Linked DNA regions of Homo sapiens: all the other regions are linked to region 1. The links are contacts of gene promoters, found by promoter capture Hi-C in human tissues and cell types (Jung and others, 2019). All regions are on one chromosome and are shown on one strand. Each heading gives the region's core, a stretch centred on a gene start or on the middle of the fragment in contact. The rest is flanking DNA. Distances are from core to core; before and after follow the strand shown.

The links. Contacts are between HindIII fragments. The study calls those that stand out against the background at their distance.
Region 2: a contact is called between a fragment that was not itself captured here and the fragment with the promoter of GMPS in region 1, in 1 of the 25 tissues and cell types used here (mesendoderm cells).
Region 3: a fragment that was not itself captured here is called in contact with the fragment with the promoter of GMPS in region 1 in 1 of the 25 tissues and cell types used here (mesendoderm cells).
Region 4: a fragment that was not itself captured here is called in contact with the fragment with the promoter of GMPS in region 1 in 1 of the 25 tissues and cell types used here (mesenchymal stem cells).

Annotation. Positions count from the first base shown.
Region 1 is chr3:155,868,845-155,872,598 of GRCh38, forward strand. It overlaps GMPS (guanine monophosphate synthase), which reads left to right and starts at 1,806. Exons shown (of 16, transcript NM_003875.3): 1 at 1,806-2,053. The coding sequence starts at 2,027. RefSeq lists enhancers at 1,251-1,300, 1,840-2,599 and a silencer at 1,441-2,660. The HindIII fragment of the contact is 29,940 bases long and covers 1-3,754 here.
Region 2 is chr3:155,362,230-155,365,983 of GRCh38, forward strand. No RefSeq gene overlaps it. Among named protein-coding and RNA genes, the nearest start is that of STRIT1, 70 kb to the left of the region's middle. RefSeq lists enhancers at 571-1,249, 1,250-1,927. The HindIII fragment of the contact is 4,184 bases long and covers 1-3,754 here.
Region 3 is chr3:155,387,004-155,390,757 of GRCh38, forward strand. No RefSeq gene overlaps it. Among named protein-coding and RNA genes, the nearest start is that of PLCH1-AS1, 60 kb to the right of the region's middle. The HindIII fragment of the contact is 3,607 bases long and covers 1-3,509 here.
Region 4 is chr3:155,549,640-155,553,393 of GRCh38, forward strand. It overlaps PLCH1 (phospholipase C eta 1), which reads right to left. Exons shown (of 23, transcript NM_014996.4): 10 at 148-319. Among named protein-coding and RNA genes, the nearest start is that of PLCH1-AS2, 66 kb to the left of the region's middle. The HindIII fragment of the contact is 4,599 bases long and covers 1-3,754 here.

The DNA.
Region 1 (3,754 bases), core at 556-3,055:
ACAAAGAGGGATGGGTCAATAGAGTCAGAAGCTAAAGAAGAAAGAATATCAGGATCCTATATTGTGTGCATGCCAACATTCTTAGCCATTAAGCACAGGTGACCACTAGAATTTATTTATTTATTTGTTTATTTTGAGATGGAGTTTCGCTGTTGTCACCCAGGCTGGTGTGCAATGGCATGATCTTGGCTCCCTGCAACCTCCACCTCCCGGGTTCAAGCGATTCTCCTGCCTCAGCCTCCCGAGTAGCTGGGATTATAGGCGCATGCCACCACGCCTGGCTAATTTTTGTATTTTTAGTAGAGACAGGTTTCATGATGTTGGCCAGCCTGTTCTGGAACTCTGACCTCAGGTAATCCACCCGCCTAGGCCTCCCAAAGTGCTGGGATTACAGGTGTGAGCCACCACGCCCAGCCTAGAATATATTTAAACTAAGCATTGTTTAAGATAGATGGGACTTAGCCAATCCTTAATGCCAGTATATCACATCACATTCCACTCCATTAGGGGTGGATGTTTATGTAAGTTGAGGTTCTCCTATTGGTTACTGCACTCTTCTTTAGATTGTGCATACAGACCTACCCAGAGAAGCCAGTATCCATGGCTTTGGAGAGTTCAAATATTCAATTTTCCGTTCAAAAAAAGGTAAGCGAAATACTTAAGTCTCAGGCCCACTAGGACCTTAAGCCTTTCGTTTTTGTAAATATTTCACTAATAAACTGTCTACACTTTCCCAGATTGGGCAGGCCTTACATTCTATATATACTGAGAGGCACATTATCTCACTAAGCCTCAATTTCCTCATTTGTAAAAAGGATAAGAACATCAATCCTACCTTACTACTTTCACGGGATTGGTTAAAGTTAGCTTTTAAAGTATTTTCTCACTCTGGCTCCTTAATACCCTAGCTACAGTCTGACACAAGAATGACTGCAGCAAAATGTTGGCTGTATTATAATAAAAATATTTGTGGAAAGGCTTTGTTAGCTGGAAGCCATCTCAAGTATTATTCTTTATACCCCAATCTCGATTTAGGCCTCTAGGTAACCAAATTCAAAGTAACACCTCATCATCATGATGGTTGCCAAGGGGTAGGTGGAGGGACTGCAGCCCCTTCCCCACAAACAATTCCAATAAAAACACTGTTGTGCAAACAGAGCTTCACGACCAGTTCCCTGGGCCAGCTGCTCACCAGATTACCACTCCCAAACTCCCTTTTCTTTGGAAATACTGCACCTGCTGTATTTGTGGGGAGCTGTATAACTTTTGAAGTATCTAAGTGATCAGTTCCTACAATGACATCCTTGAGATATGGCCACGGAACTTTCCAAAGCAGCCTTGGCCTCCTTCATGTCCAGCAACCTGAGATAAGGCCACGCCACCGGCTAAGAGTTCCGCCAGGGGCCCAGCTCTCAGGAGGCCTCTTCGGTGCCGCCAGCCTCCCGAAGTCATCCAAGGTAGCAGGCAAATCCGGCAGCAGCAAACTAGCTCGGATTCGGCTTCGGTTTTTCTCCTGGCCGGCGCCACAGGCCCCTCCTCCGGGGCGGGCTCCTCGGTGCGAGGGCAGGAGGGGCGGAGCCGGTGGATGCCGCGGGCTCCTCCTCCCAAGGGCGGGCCGCGGGAGACCCGGCCGGCTTTGCCGGCGGGGACCGGGCTGGGGGCGGGGCCGGGCGCCGCGAGCCCCTCCTCTCGAGGGCCGGCCGGTTTGGCGGCGGCTGCGGAGGGTATCTGAGGCTCGGCTGCCAAGCCGAACGGGCTCTGGCTCCTCCCAGTGGCCGGCCGGGGCGGAAGCAGGAGGCGGGGGCAGCGTGCGCGCTGCTGGTCTTCTCTCCCGCGGCGCTGGGGCCCGCGCTCCGCTGCTGTTGCTCCATTCGGCGCTTTTCTGGCGGCTGGCTCCTCTCCGCTGCCGGCTGCTCCTCGACCAGGCCTCCTTCTCAACCTCAGCCCGCGGCGCCGACCCTTCCGGCACCCTCCCGCCCCGTCTCGTACTGTCGCCGTCACCGCCGCGGCTCCGGCCCTGGCCCCGATGGCTCTGTGCAACGGAGACTCCAAGGTCAGCGTGGGGGTCCCTGCAGCACCGCATCCCGGCGGAGGCGAGGCTCCCGGACCGGGGAGCCACCCCGCGAGGCCCTTCCCCACCCCCTTCCCCCAGCCCGTCCGCGCAGCCCTGCGCCCCGGGCAGCCACGCGTCGTAGAGTCCCTGGTCGGGGCCTGTGGCATGTTTTATCTCGGGAGCGGCGATGCTTTGTTGATCTTGTCTGCGTGTCGAGGTCCGGGCGTCGGGGAGGGCATCAGCTCCCCGCGGCCGCGTCGCTGGCCCCCGCCTCCCCCGCGCCGCTGTGGGGCGCAGAGCCCGCGAGCGCGGCGCGAGGGTGGGGGTAGGGCGGCGAGCGGGCTTGTGTGTCTGCGTGTCGGGGTGGGGGCTTCCTCGGCTCCCACCCCGTCCCTCTGGGAGGCTGGGGGCCCGTTGTGGCGATCCCGGGGCCCGCCGAAGGCAGGGCAGGGTCGGGGCCTCCTGTGCGGCGTTGGAGCTGGGCCGGCCTCTGGTCTTCCCGCCACCCCGTTTCCCGCCTGCCCTCGGCGAGGCCCGCTCCATTCCCCCCGCCAGCCTTGGGCTCCGCGGCGGTTAGGCCGGTTCTGGACGAACCCCTCGGAGCTGCACTGTCTTCCCCCTCCCCCAACGCCCCTGCAGGCCCGCGTGAGGGCTGGTGGCCCCAGGGTCGCGCACTCCGTTCTCCCTCCCCGCTTCCTTCTCAGAGAGGAAAGGGTGTGTGTCCAGGTCCCGCCCCCGTCCAGCTTGCTCCCTGTCGAGCTTGCTGGTTTGCGGGGTAACCCGCTTCCCCGCCTTTGGGGTCCCTCCCCGGGACGCGAGCCGTGCCAGCTCGCCCGAGGCCTGGGCAGTCCGGAGTTCCGGAGTGCTGGAAAAGTTGCCGCCTTGACGTACCCGGCGGGGAGAGCACGTTTGACCGCTGCTGCTCATCTCTCCTCCAACTCACTTTTCTTAGACCGTTCCTCTTACTTTCGTCCCGCTTTTGAATTGGGCACCTTCGCTTTCACCTCTGTATTAAAATTTTCATTGGCCTGGAGTTCTTTCTGACCTTCACTAAGTCAGTTTTGCCAGCGGGAAACCGTGCAGTTTTGAATTGCGATTTACTTCATTAAGATACACCTCCTCTGTACGCTGTTGAGGGCCTAGCTTTAGGAAAAAACTTAATTAAATTTCATTCGGGGGGTGGGATTGTATACTTCGAGGTGGATTTGGTGCTCTACGTCAGATAGTAGTGCCTTGTTCAGGCAGAATTTTAACATTCTTTTTAAAAGGTGCTGCTCAAGGGTCACATCTTAGGAGGTCCTCTTGAATGGTTGCTTAGCACCCGGTAATCATTCAAAAAGTATTTGTCGAACAATGAGTAAAAGATTATAAGGTAGCTGATTTTAACTCTTTTAAACCAAGGCACCAGTGGTGCTTAGGTCCAGGGAGCTGTTAAGACACACAAACCTTTAGTTTCTGACCTAAGGAGCAAATGTAAACCCCATTGTCCAGCTCTTTCCCGATTACTAGTCGACTTGCAAAGCATTTTTCTGCCTAGTTTTGAGTCTTACAACTCATTGGAAAGATTCATCTTTATGCTGATAGATGAAATAACTGGTGTTAGAAGGACTGAAATTTAATTTATGGGCTTTGAAAAATATATAGTGCATTTGAGAGGAGTATTTTCACAAAACTAAGTGACAGAAAAGTATAAGATTTGTT
Region 2 (3,754 bases), core at 803-3,302, 510 kb before region 1:
CATAGGCTGGGTGCAGTGGCTCATGCCTGTAATCCGAGCACTTTGGGAGGCTTAGGTGGGTGGATCACCTGAGATCAGGAGTTCAAGACCAGCCTGGCCAACATGGCAAAACCCTGTCTCTATGAAAAATGCAAAAATTAGACAGGTGTGGTGGCATGCACCTGTAATCCCAGCTACTTGGGAGGCAGAGGCAGGAGAATCGCTTGAACCCAGGAGGCAGAGGTTGCAGTGAGCTGAGATTGCACCACTGCACTCCAGCCTGGGTGACAGAGGGAGACTCTGTCTCAGAAAAGAAAGAATTCCCACCCATGAGGGGCTTTTGTTGTCTCAATCCTTGTTGCCTGATTAGGCCTGGGAAAGTCCAATCCCAGGGGGGTATACCCAGTGTCACAAATTAACAAGCCTGTGACTGGCAAGCCCCCACAAATTTGTGGGATACTAGAGGCACCATACATATGCACAGACATCATCCTTAACCATCTGTGGAAGGAGAGTCTTTTGTTATTTAACTTATTTCTGGGAGTAAATTTTTGAGGGTTTCATATGATGCTGCATCTTCTGCACCCATTTTTAAAACGCCACTTATGTCCATGGTGTTCCTTCCATTAAAAATGTCTGTTGGCTTGAGTCGCTTATGAAATAAACAAAAGGACTATATTTAAAAGAAAACTTTTTAGAGAGCTCTTATCTTAAATAGCCATCTTATTGGTATCTATGAAAAAATACAAAAGAAATATAGCCTTTAAAATTCTATTGGCAAGATTCCAAAATGGCAGAAATCAGATTTAAAACAAAGTTAAAACCCTGTGTATACACACACTGCCTGCTTTGGATTCCCTGTGGGATATGCAAAAAGGGCAATCCAGCCTGTATTCTAGTGGCGAGGATTCCATGCTTTCACATCCACTGCCCAGGTTTGATTCCCAGACGGAGAACCAGTCCCTTAGAGATGTAAGTCCTTTAACCCAGGAGGTAAAAAGAAACATTTATAAGTAAGGAGAGCAAAGATCACCTAGTGACCATCAAGCAGGCCATTAAGAGACAAAAAGAAAAATTCCTTATTTGAGGAATTTAGAAGTAATTAGACTTCCCTATTATCTAAAGTCAGCACCTGGTTCCAGGCCTCTTTTCAACTTAAAATTTACAGGAAACTAGAATGTCTATACACCTCCAGAATGCATGCATGCCGAACTGCCAAACTCATTGTGCAATCCTTACCGACATTAAGGCACCAAGATGTCTACAAATGTAATCGTTTATCATGCAAATTACCCTTCAGCTTCCGCTTTAAGGTCTCTAAACACCTCTAAAGAAAAAGCCACCATGCTGTGCTCAGTCCTCTCTTGCTGAGGCCCCCCGCTGCACTCTTCTGCAGCGTTCCTTCTTTCTAAAAAATATTTCTGTTTTCAAACCCATACCGTTGTCAGTAAATTCTTACCAACCCACAAGTCAACCACTTTCCAATGCCAGGGCTCTGACACCTCGCCCAGCAATAAGAATTAGTTTGGATTACTTATTTTGAATTTATATTTGTGTGACTCTTGACTTTCTGATGTACTCATTTCTTATTGATTCTTTTCCCTTTCCCTTCCATGGATGGCTATTGTTTTCCTGTTTGTCTCTAAGTCTCTTTTTTTTTCATCTAGTAGCTGCTAGACCCAGGGGGTAATTCTGGGTCTTGTGAGGACTGCTTTTTTACACGTTTTTGGAGATGCCTCATGCATCCTTGGTTAAGGTTTTCGTTCTCAGTCACTGGGAAATTACCTTTGGTTTAAAAGAAAAGACAAAAAGTTCAAAAGCCAGGAATATTGGCTTTGTTCTGGCTAAAACTGATAATGAGAGATTCAAAAGATTCTTTGAATTCTATGAGCAAAAGTCAGCTTAAGCAAAGCTGATACTCAGATTATACATATTTTTAGACATTTCTGTTCTCCTTTGGATCCCATTTCTCCCATGGGGATTTTTTTGATCCAACTGAAACCTCTTTTTAATTGTACGTGCGTTCCTTCTGCTTGTTTCCTTTTTTGGCAAGATTTTTGCTTAAAAAGATGTAAAATTTAATTGGCCTTTTTTTGAAAGTTTGAGATCTCCCCACACTGGCTCCTCTAGGACTCATTCTTCCACTTGCTCCTACCCCTGTTTTTGCTATGATCTTCCATTCATTTCCCCTTAATCATTGATATGTGCCCCTTCAAGCCCCTACTTTCTTCATCTGGTGGTCAATGGATGAAAAATTACTAAGAGGAAATATGAGAGTCTTGGTTGTCACATAAAAGAATCTGAAAGAAACTTCTAGTAACTCTCATACCTCTTTGAGAAAGAGAGCTAAGGTATCACTGGCCCCTTTTTAGGTCCTCTGTCTTCCTCACAGAACCCAAAGAGTCATGAGTGGGTCTGGCCCTGTTTGTTAATGGGCTCTGGCGTGAGCAATAATCCAGTTAAGAAACGGAAACTAAGTTTAAAGGCCACCTATCAAACTAAATATCCAAAGTACAACCTTCTGGCCTTCAGCTGGCTATTTTAAAACTCTTGGTAAAAGAAATGTTTATTTATAAAGAGAATCTCAATTTGTAAGGGTCTCTCTCTCTCCCTCTCTCTGCAACTAAACCACTAGAAACTTTTACAATGGGAAAGGCATTGACTTAAAAGTTTACATAACAAATCTTACCTTTGTCTAAAGTAGTTTTTCTGGCTGTCTTGCCTTAACTTAACTGAGCCTTACCTATGTCATTCTCTGTCTTGGCAAATAATGTTTAGATCTAAGTTCTGTATCTTTGAGATATAAATGTTCCACCTTATTTCACCTAAGAGTCAGTACAGATTTAGGACTGCCTAGCTAACAATTGCTTAGGGCAATGAAACAGGTAATCAGAAGGTTGATGGTATGAATGGGGGAAAGAAACTATTTGGAAACTGGCTAATGAAAGATATAAGATCTGCTTCTGTCTATGTGTCCATATGTCTGTCTATGTATCTTATGTGTATGTAATATTTCTATGTGATCTGAGATATTATCTGGTAAATAAAGCTAGTTTTAAAATTTTTGGTAAAATAAAATAGTGTATTCAGAATTGTCAGTATTAAATATAATTCAGACATTTTTGCCTGAGTCTATTGGTCAGATAGGTTTATGCTGTTTGTGTCACATGTTTTAAGGTCATAAAACTGCTACTTCTATAATGTTTTTGGTACTTGCTTGATTTGTCTGTAAGCTAAAGCTGTGAGGGCTGGCTGGTGGGCCCCTCTGAAGTGTCGCACACATCTTGCTGTAAGCATATATCTTTGGGTTTGAGCCTTTGGATTCTAGAGTCTGGATAGGTGACTATGGTGAAGCTTGAGGATATATGTGTGTTCAGAGAACCTAGGCCACCAGCTGTCACCTTCACAGCTCTGTCCACTGTCCTGGGTTCTACACTTGGAGTTTGAATCCAGGATTCAGATGAGCCCTGCCCTTCATAGCCATCCTGGGTGCATGTGGGTACTCAGGACCCAGAACAGCTAGGGAGGACATTAGGAATGGTACCTGTGTCATCATTTCAAAATTCTTTTTAGTAATTTAAAATCTTAAAACCATGTTTTGTTAAATTAAGTAATAGAATCATAAAATGTCTGAGTCATTTCTAAGTCAAAATACTTAACCATGAAATATTGAACATAACTTTAAGTTATATACTTTGAGATCTTATTTTTATATTGTATAGAAAAGCTAAATATTTTTCCTGGGTGATGTTGGTAGAAAATAGGAAAAAAAAGA
Region 3 (3,754 bases), core at 456-2,955, 480 kb before region 1:
AGCAATGACATCTGCTGCTGGCGGGGAAAATGCCCAGAGCGGTGCCTTTCCATGCAATTACTCCTGGGCATAAAAAGAAAAACAACCTTCTTTTCCTTCCCAATCTGCCAGTCTCTTCCGAATCTCTGGAAACAAGCTCTCTTCGATTGGGCAATTTGACAGGCTGTCCTGCTACAAACATCAGCTGTCACAGGCATAATGCAACAAGAAGGGAAGGCTCTAGGGCCAAGCAGAAGTAGTCAGGACAGCTCAAATGTAGCCAGCAAAGGGAATCTCCGGGTAAGCATGATGGAGTGCCTCAGATGGGTCTCGAGAGTCTGCCTATATTTCAATGTCTGTTTTCACATGGAGAATTCATGGGTTACACACAAATCTCATCTCCTTGAAAAAACAAGAACAAGAAGGGAGCAAAAAATAGATGGATGCATCTAAACCAATGTCATTGAAATTCTTAATCAAATAAAGTCATAAAAATCACTGTACCGTCCAAAGGTCCCCAGCTCGTACCCTCCCTGACACTCTTTCAATTTAGCCATGAGGAGGGTGTAGGTCTCCTGTAGGGAGAGAGCCAGGTAACTTCTCCCACTGCCTTGCCAAACTGCAGACCCTACAGTGGTCTGGTCAGGGCCACACATCCCGCTGGAAAGTCAATTTGGACTTCACTAAGTACATCATATTCCAAAGTGAAAGGATGAATTGTGGTGTGGCATGAGACAGTGAGCAAGTCCTTCAGTGGTTTGTGCAGACGTATGTACTGAAGGCCACACAAGCTGTCTGCCAGACCCACTTCCTGCTCTGGGATTCCAGCCACACTCACCTGGTTAACTATTTGGTACCACACCACCCTGCTACAGCTGCTTGGACCAGGGAGGCATGCCTGCCTGAAAAATAGCCTAGGAAGAGGCTTGCCTCAAGTAGAGCCGCCAAACAGGCACAATTGTGACCTAATTGAGCTGATCAGATCTCATTGCTTAGATGATTTGAGAGTCCAGCATTAAAAAAAAAAAAATAGCAATTGTTAGAGGAAATAAAAACATCCTCTTTACCAACAGGCAGAAAAAGTTCATATCAAATCACCAGAGTACCAAAAAATTATTTTGTAAAGAATTAATACTTGTTTTATTTTGAAAAGCATTAAAATAATCATCACAGGGAAAAAATTAAAACTTTTTCTAGACATATATTTTTTCTTAATATCTGTTTAATCTCTGCTGCATATTTTTAAATGTTATTTTATTATGGTAAGAAAATGACATGAGATCTACTTTCTTAATTAATGTTTAAGTGTACGATACATTGTCATTTACTTTAGGTACAATGTGGTACACCAGATCTCTAGAGCTTACTCATCTTGCTTAACTGAAACTTTATCGGCATTTATTTTGAAATTCGAGAGAGGGAGGAGAGAGTAGCCTATAGATACTCTGGTCTAAATGTCTTGATCTAAGCCTGAAAAAGTACACAGAGAGGGAGCAAGAATAGAAGCCAGGAGTAGGAGAGAAGGAGAATATTGAGCTACCAGAAGACCAGAGCAGCAGCAGTCAGAAACTCTCTGAGCCTCCATGGTGAGCAGGGAGCAGAGAAAGGGGACTCAGACGCCTGCTTCTGAGACACCTGCCTGAATTCCCGTGGTGCCCCAGAGCTGCTGCTGTGGCTTGGTGGTCTAAGCTTCCCTTACCCCCATGTTGCCTTGCTGCAAACTCCTACTTCCTAAACTTCAGTTTGTCTTTGCTTCTTGAAACCTAAAAAAGCCTAACTAAGGCCTCAATCATACTAGCAAATAAAAGAAATTCATTCAGATATTATTACCAAAGCCAAAGGTCAGGTACTTTAAAGGGAATGGACAGGATATCATGATTTGTGTGGTTCAACTGAGAAGCTTAATCCAACAAGAGCTTCAAGATGGAAGATAGACTTTGCAGAAGAACATGGAGTAAATTCAGAAGACAGACACGAGGATGAACATATGCAAACCATGTCCTAAGCAGGCAACCTCCGGGGAGTTAGGGATGTACAGCCTGCAGAATAGAAAACTCATGAGGCTCATGATAGATGATGTCAAGTGGAAGAAGGGCTGGAATTGTTTCATGTGCCAAAGATAGAAGAATATGGGAGTAAAGGTTTTAGTTCAATGTTAGGAAAAGCTTTCCAAAAATCTGAACTTCATGAGAAGATGGGGTGAGTTGTTTGTCAATGAAAGTGTTCAAGGAGAAACTCAGTTTTTAGACTCTCAATTTAGGTAAGATTCAATTAGAAATATCGCGTTCATTGTGATAAGAAAAGATAATACAAGGTAAAGAACCCTAAAGTTGAAAATTAAGTGAATGCAGCAACAAGTCAAATATATTGAACAAACTTGTAGCTAATCTGAGATTGATAAATGGTAATCTTCAGACTGCTGGGGTGAAAATATTCTTGCCTAGAAATTCTGCATTTATTGGACTTGGGGATATTGTCATTATTCTTTTATTGCCATCGAGGTGGACAATCACTATCTGTCTTTATTTAGCCTTAACAAATCAAATAAGAGAATGTTTTATGCATCAAATTTTTTTTAGTTATCAGTTGATAAAATCAAGGGATAGAATATTAGAAGAAACCCTTGGAAATCTAGGACAATCTGACATGATCGCATGATTATTTTTCTCTTCTTCAGGGAACAAATGAAATTTAATAGACTATAACCATTATTCATAAGTTACAAGAATGTCTATGTGCCTTTTTTTTCCAGAAGATAAATATATTGAGGGAGGAGAAAATGTAATACCTGCCAAATATCTTTCTCAAAGCTCTTTCTTAGAAGACTCTGCTGACTTCCTCTCTATAGTTCTTCTAGAGAAGAGAAATAATCTCATCTCCTATTGACCTGAATGAGCTGAGAGGGTTACTATTAATGGATACAATAGACTTGAAACTTCTGCTCTGAAGGGAGATGTAAAAAATAATCAGCCTACCTCTCTGCAACTACTGTTCCCTGCAGGAACAGCCACTTCATTTCTGCCAAAGATTTGAGGACTACAAGCAAAACCTTTCTACTACATCCCATCACTAAGCAAGTTCTGCCACCTTGGGTTGCAAGACTATTCAGATCTTCTTAAAACCTTACTTTTGGCAGAAAGCTGGAAGGAAAGTAGATAATATAAGAATATTTCTTAGGATTGTTTTTGATAGTGAAGAAAAGGACAACACAATTTTTGGACTTAGAGTCCTAAAATGTCCATCTCATTGCAAGGAAAAAATATCAATAACTTCTAACACTGGTGTCAGGGACATCCCTAATTTTGGAAAAGTCCCATGATACTTTATTTGGTAGGAGACTGGACTAATAATTGCTGTTTCCTTGCATCTCCAAAGCATCACACATGTGCTTATGCAGCTAACTTTATATATAACAGCTGAAATAATATTTCATGCAAATGTTCTAAGTATAGGAAAGGAAATGCAATGAGAACAGCTTCAGCATTTCCAAAGGGAAAATTGATCTTTAGCACTTGATGTGCAATCAAACACTGAAATGATTTTTTTCACTTGATAACTTTCCAGCAGGAATCCTGACATAATGTTTAAGAGCCTCCACTGTTGCTGAATTTTAACCTTCCTTTAAAAATATGAATAGAACTTTGTTTGCTAATTCAAATCTGAAAACAATTTGAAAGGTATTTCATTTGTTTATATGCTCTAGAATTTTAAGCATGTTCAAATTAAGTAAATAGGAAAAAAAATGTATCTAGCTTGTTTGCTTTATTCAGCCATA
Region 4 (3,754 bases), core at 692-3,191, 320 kb before region 1:
TGGAATAAGGCGCATACATAGATCTAGACAATCCTTCATATATTGATTCTAATTATTATTCTCCCTTGAAACCCATTTTTATTCTTTAAGGGAGGGCAGGCTTAGCTGATAATGAATGTCTTTTATTGCATTACTTGAAGTAATTACCTTCACTAGAATTTTGCCTTTCAAACTTTGAGGGCTTGGAAGCTGCTTGCACTCCCCTGTATCAACAGATGACAGGTCCAGTTTGTCTCCGAATATTCCTTTCAGGTACTGAGCAATCTTCCTTTGCTGCTGGATACTGCAGTGATTCTCGATAGACAATATAACAGGAAACCTGAGAAAAGAGCAACACAGTCCAGAGGCGTCAGGTGCAGGCAACTCACAGGGACTTTTGAAAATGATTCAGTATTCACTGTGTTGTTACAATCCTAGTGACAGTATTTGCGATACTGATGATGGTTAAAATGCTTCTAAAATGAGAAAGATTAGAAATGCATTTAAAAAATTCCTCTGAGCAAATATACTTTGCTAAGCATAATGGATGAACAAAATACCAATCCACATGGGATGGCTTTTCTAATATTTTGCATCAGGAAACAATGGTAGATATATTATGTTTCTTTTAAAAGAAGAGAAAATTTTAAAAGAGATGAGAAGTCTAAAGAAAGTAAACTCATATAATGTAATTTTGTCTTATTTATTCAAAAGTCTAACAGCTTCTAAGAGACCACTGAATGTCATTAAATGAAGCTATTGACTCTAAAATATATAATTAACCCCCACCTTGAAAATTATGATTGAGGATAAAATAACATAAGGGAATTCTGTGTTTTATAGCATCCTACGTCGCACATTTCAAAATCACTTTGATAGAATTATATACTAGTCTTTGTCAAAAAATAAAAATAAAAACCAGCCAAGCATTCATTCTACACCAGCACTCAGGTTTCTGCACAGAAAACATGAGATCCATGTAAATAATTACCTAAAGGAGTTGGTGGCTAAGGCAGAAAGGAGATCAGGGCTGATTACATGATTTTACTCCTCTCTCAACCTTATTTTTTCCTCAGAATAAGAAATTATTTCAAATTCAGGTTCATTGACTTTTTTCTAGTTTTCCGTTACATGTCTTCAGACATAATAGGCAATATATTTAAATCACCTAATATATCAACATATACCAATATTTAAATCACCTAATATATCAATGTGCAGAAAAACTTTTTCCAGGCTTTCATGACAAGCACAAGTTCCACAATACGGGCTATGACCGCCAGACCTACCTTCTCTCCTCATTAGTAAAACCTGATGCTGTGGGCCATCTTACAGATGAGCCTTTGTGGCTGAGGTAGGTTTCCTTACTCGACTACAATCTGTTTGCTATTCATTTCTTCACATAGGTTTTACCCTAAAGTGCTAGAAGAGGGAAAAGCAACAGCAACAACAAACTGACAACCCTGAGTTGTCCTGCAGTCACATCAGGGAGTTTTAACAAGGAATTTTCACATTGTCAATTCATTTACAAAAAATCTATTAGTGGCAGGGAGTGGTGGCTCATGCCTGTAATCCCAGCACTTTGGGAGGCCGAAGCAGGCAGATCACTTGAGGCCAGGAGTTCGAGACCAGCCTGGGCAATATAGTGAAACACTGTCTCTACTAAAAATACAAAAATTAGCCAGGCATTGTGGCACGTGCCGGTAATCCCAGATACTCAGGAGGCTGAGGCAAGAGAATCGCTTGAACCCAGGAGGCGGAGGTTGCAGTGAGCTGAGATCATGCCACTGCACTCCAGCATGGGCGACAGAGCAAGGCTGCCTCAGAAAAAAAAAAAAAAAAAAAAAAAAAAAAAAAAAAAAGCCTAATTAGTGCTTGATGATGTTTAGTGTAAAGCTGTGCTTCTCAACAGGGAACGAGGCAATTATTCCCCCCAGTACAGGAGACGCTTGTCAATATCTGAAGACATTTTTGGTGGTCACACTTCAGGGGTGCTATTGGCACATAATGAATAGAAGCTGAGGATGTTGCTTTCCACCCTACGCTGCACAGGACAGCTCTCTACCAAAAAAAAAAAAAAAAAAAAAAAATTATCAGTACACAATGTCATTAGTGCCAAGGTTGAGAAACCCTGATATAAAGATGCAACCAAAGTTAAGAAAGGAGAGGAAAAGGCTGAACTTTTAAAATGTACTAAACAAGTTTATTAACTCTTTTAATTTGAAGTGCTTTTCTTCTAAGAGTTCCCAAACTTGAAGTAAATTGTCAAATCACCAGAGGATCTTCCAAGATACATAGGTGGCAGGCCTTCTCAACACCCTACTTCATACATTGGGAAATAAAGGCAAAATTACTTCACCCATTTGGCTAGGACCTGTAGAAATCAGGGTTGTAAAGACCCATTAGAATGCAGTGTTCAAGATTCTTCCACGTGGGAGGCATCATAAACTAAATCTGCTATACAGCAAGTGTGTCTTATTAGAAAAGCATTTTTAACCTCATGTTTAATTAATGAGAAGACCAAATATTGGAAATTTTAAAGGCTACTAACTTCTAAAAAATTAATTTTACACAATTGTAATTTTAATTTGTTTCCTTTAATTCAAAAATCCTTTCTTGAATAGCTGGTATACTGAAGGTACCTGCTAGGCAACAAAAATGAATACAAAATAATAAGAGATTGCTCATATTTTCAGTGAGTTCACAGTCTTACAGATGTAAAAGAAGGCAAGTAACCAACCAATTGCAAGAGGGTGCTATATGATATGACAGAAATATGTGCAGGGTGCTAAATACAGAGAAAATATGGAGAAAAAGAAGATTTAAATCAGCTGGTGGTATTAGTAACTTGTTGGAGGGACAATACTTAAACGGCCTTGTAGAATAAGCAACAATTAATCAGATAGACTAACGGGGAAGGTTGTTCCAGGCAGAGAGAACAGCATACGTAAGAGTGGGGAGTTGAGAAAGAGCCAGGCTCAATAGGGAAGCTGAAAGACAGTCATTGAAGGCAGAATCCTAAATCTCTGTGGAATAATGGTGGAAGATGATAGTGGAAGACAAGGGAGATGCCAGACCTTAAGGGATATGAAGACATGCCTGTGTATTGAGAGAGCTTCTGACAGGCTTTAAGACAAGAATTGAATCACCATGCTCATATTTCAGAAAGAAAATTATAGCACCAGTGTTGAGGATGAACCAAAGGGGAAATAAAAATGAACAGGAGGCAATGGAGTCAAAAGATAACTTGGGAAGTAGAATTGCCAAGAATTGGTTGAGTCTAGAATGACTCCCAGTTTCTGGCTGAGGCCAGTGCTGCCCCTAACTATTAATAAGAGGAAATGGAGCGAGAATCAAGAGGAAGTTTGGCAGAATGAGATGCTGAGTTCCCCTTGGGGAGTAAGCTCCTTAATGGCAGGAGTCTTATCTTCTGCTCACTGTTGTGGCTCCCCACACCTATGGGATACTCAGATGAATATTCACTGAGGATTTTTATTTTTATTTTTATTTTTCTGAGATGGAGTCTCACTCTGTCACCCAGGCTGGAGTGCAGTGGTGCAATCTCAGCTCACTACAACCTCCACCTTCTGGGTTCAAGCAAATCTCATGCCTCAGCCTCCCAAGTAGCTGGGATTACAGATGTGTACCACTACATCCACCTAATACTTGTATTTTTTTAGTAGAGACAGGGCTTCGCCATGTTGACCAGGCTGGTCTCAAACTCCTGGCCTCACGTGATCCACCCTCCTCAGCCTCCCAAAGTGCTACAGGAGCC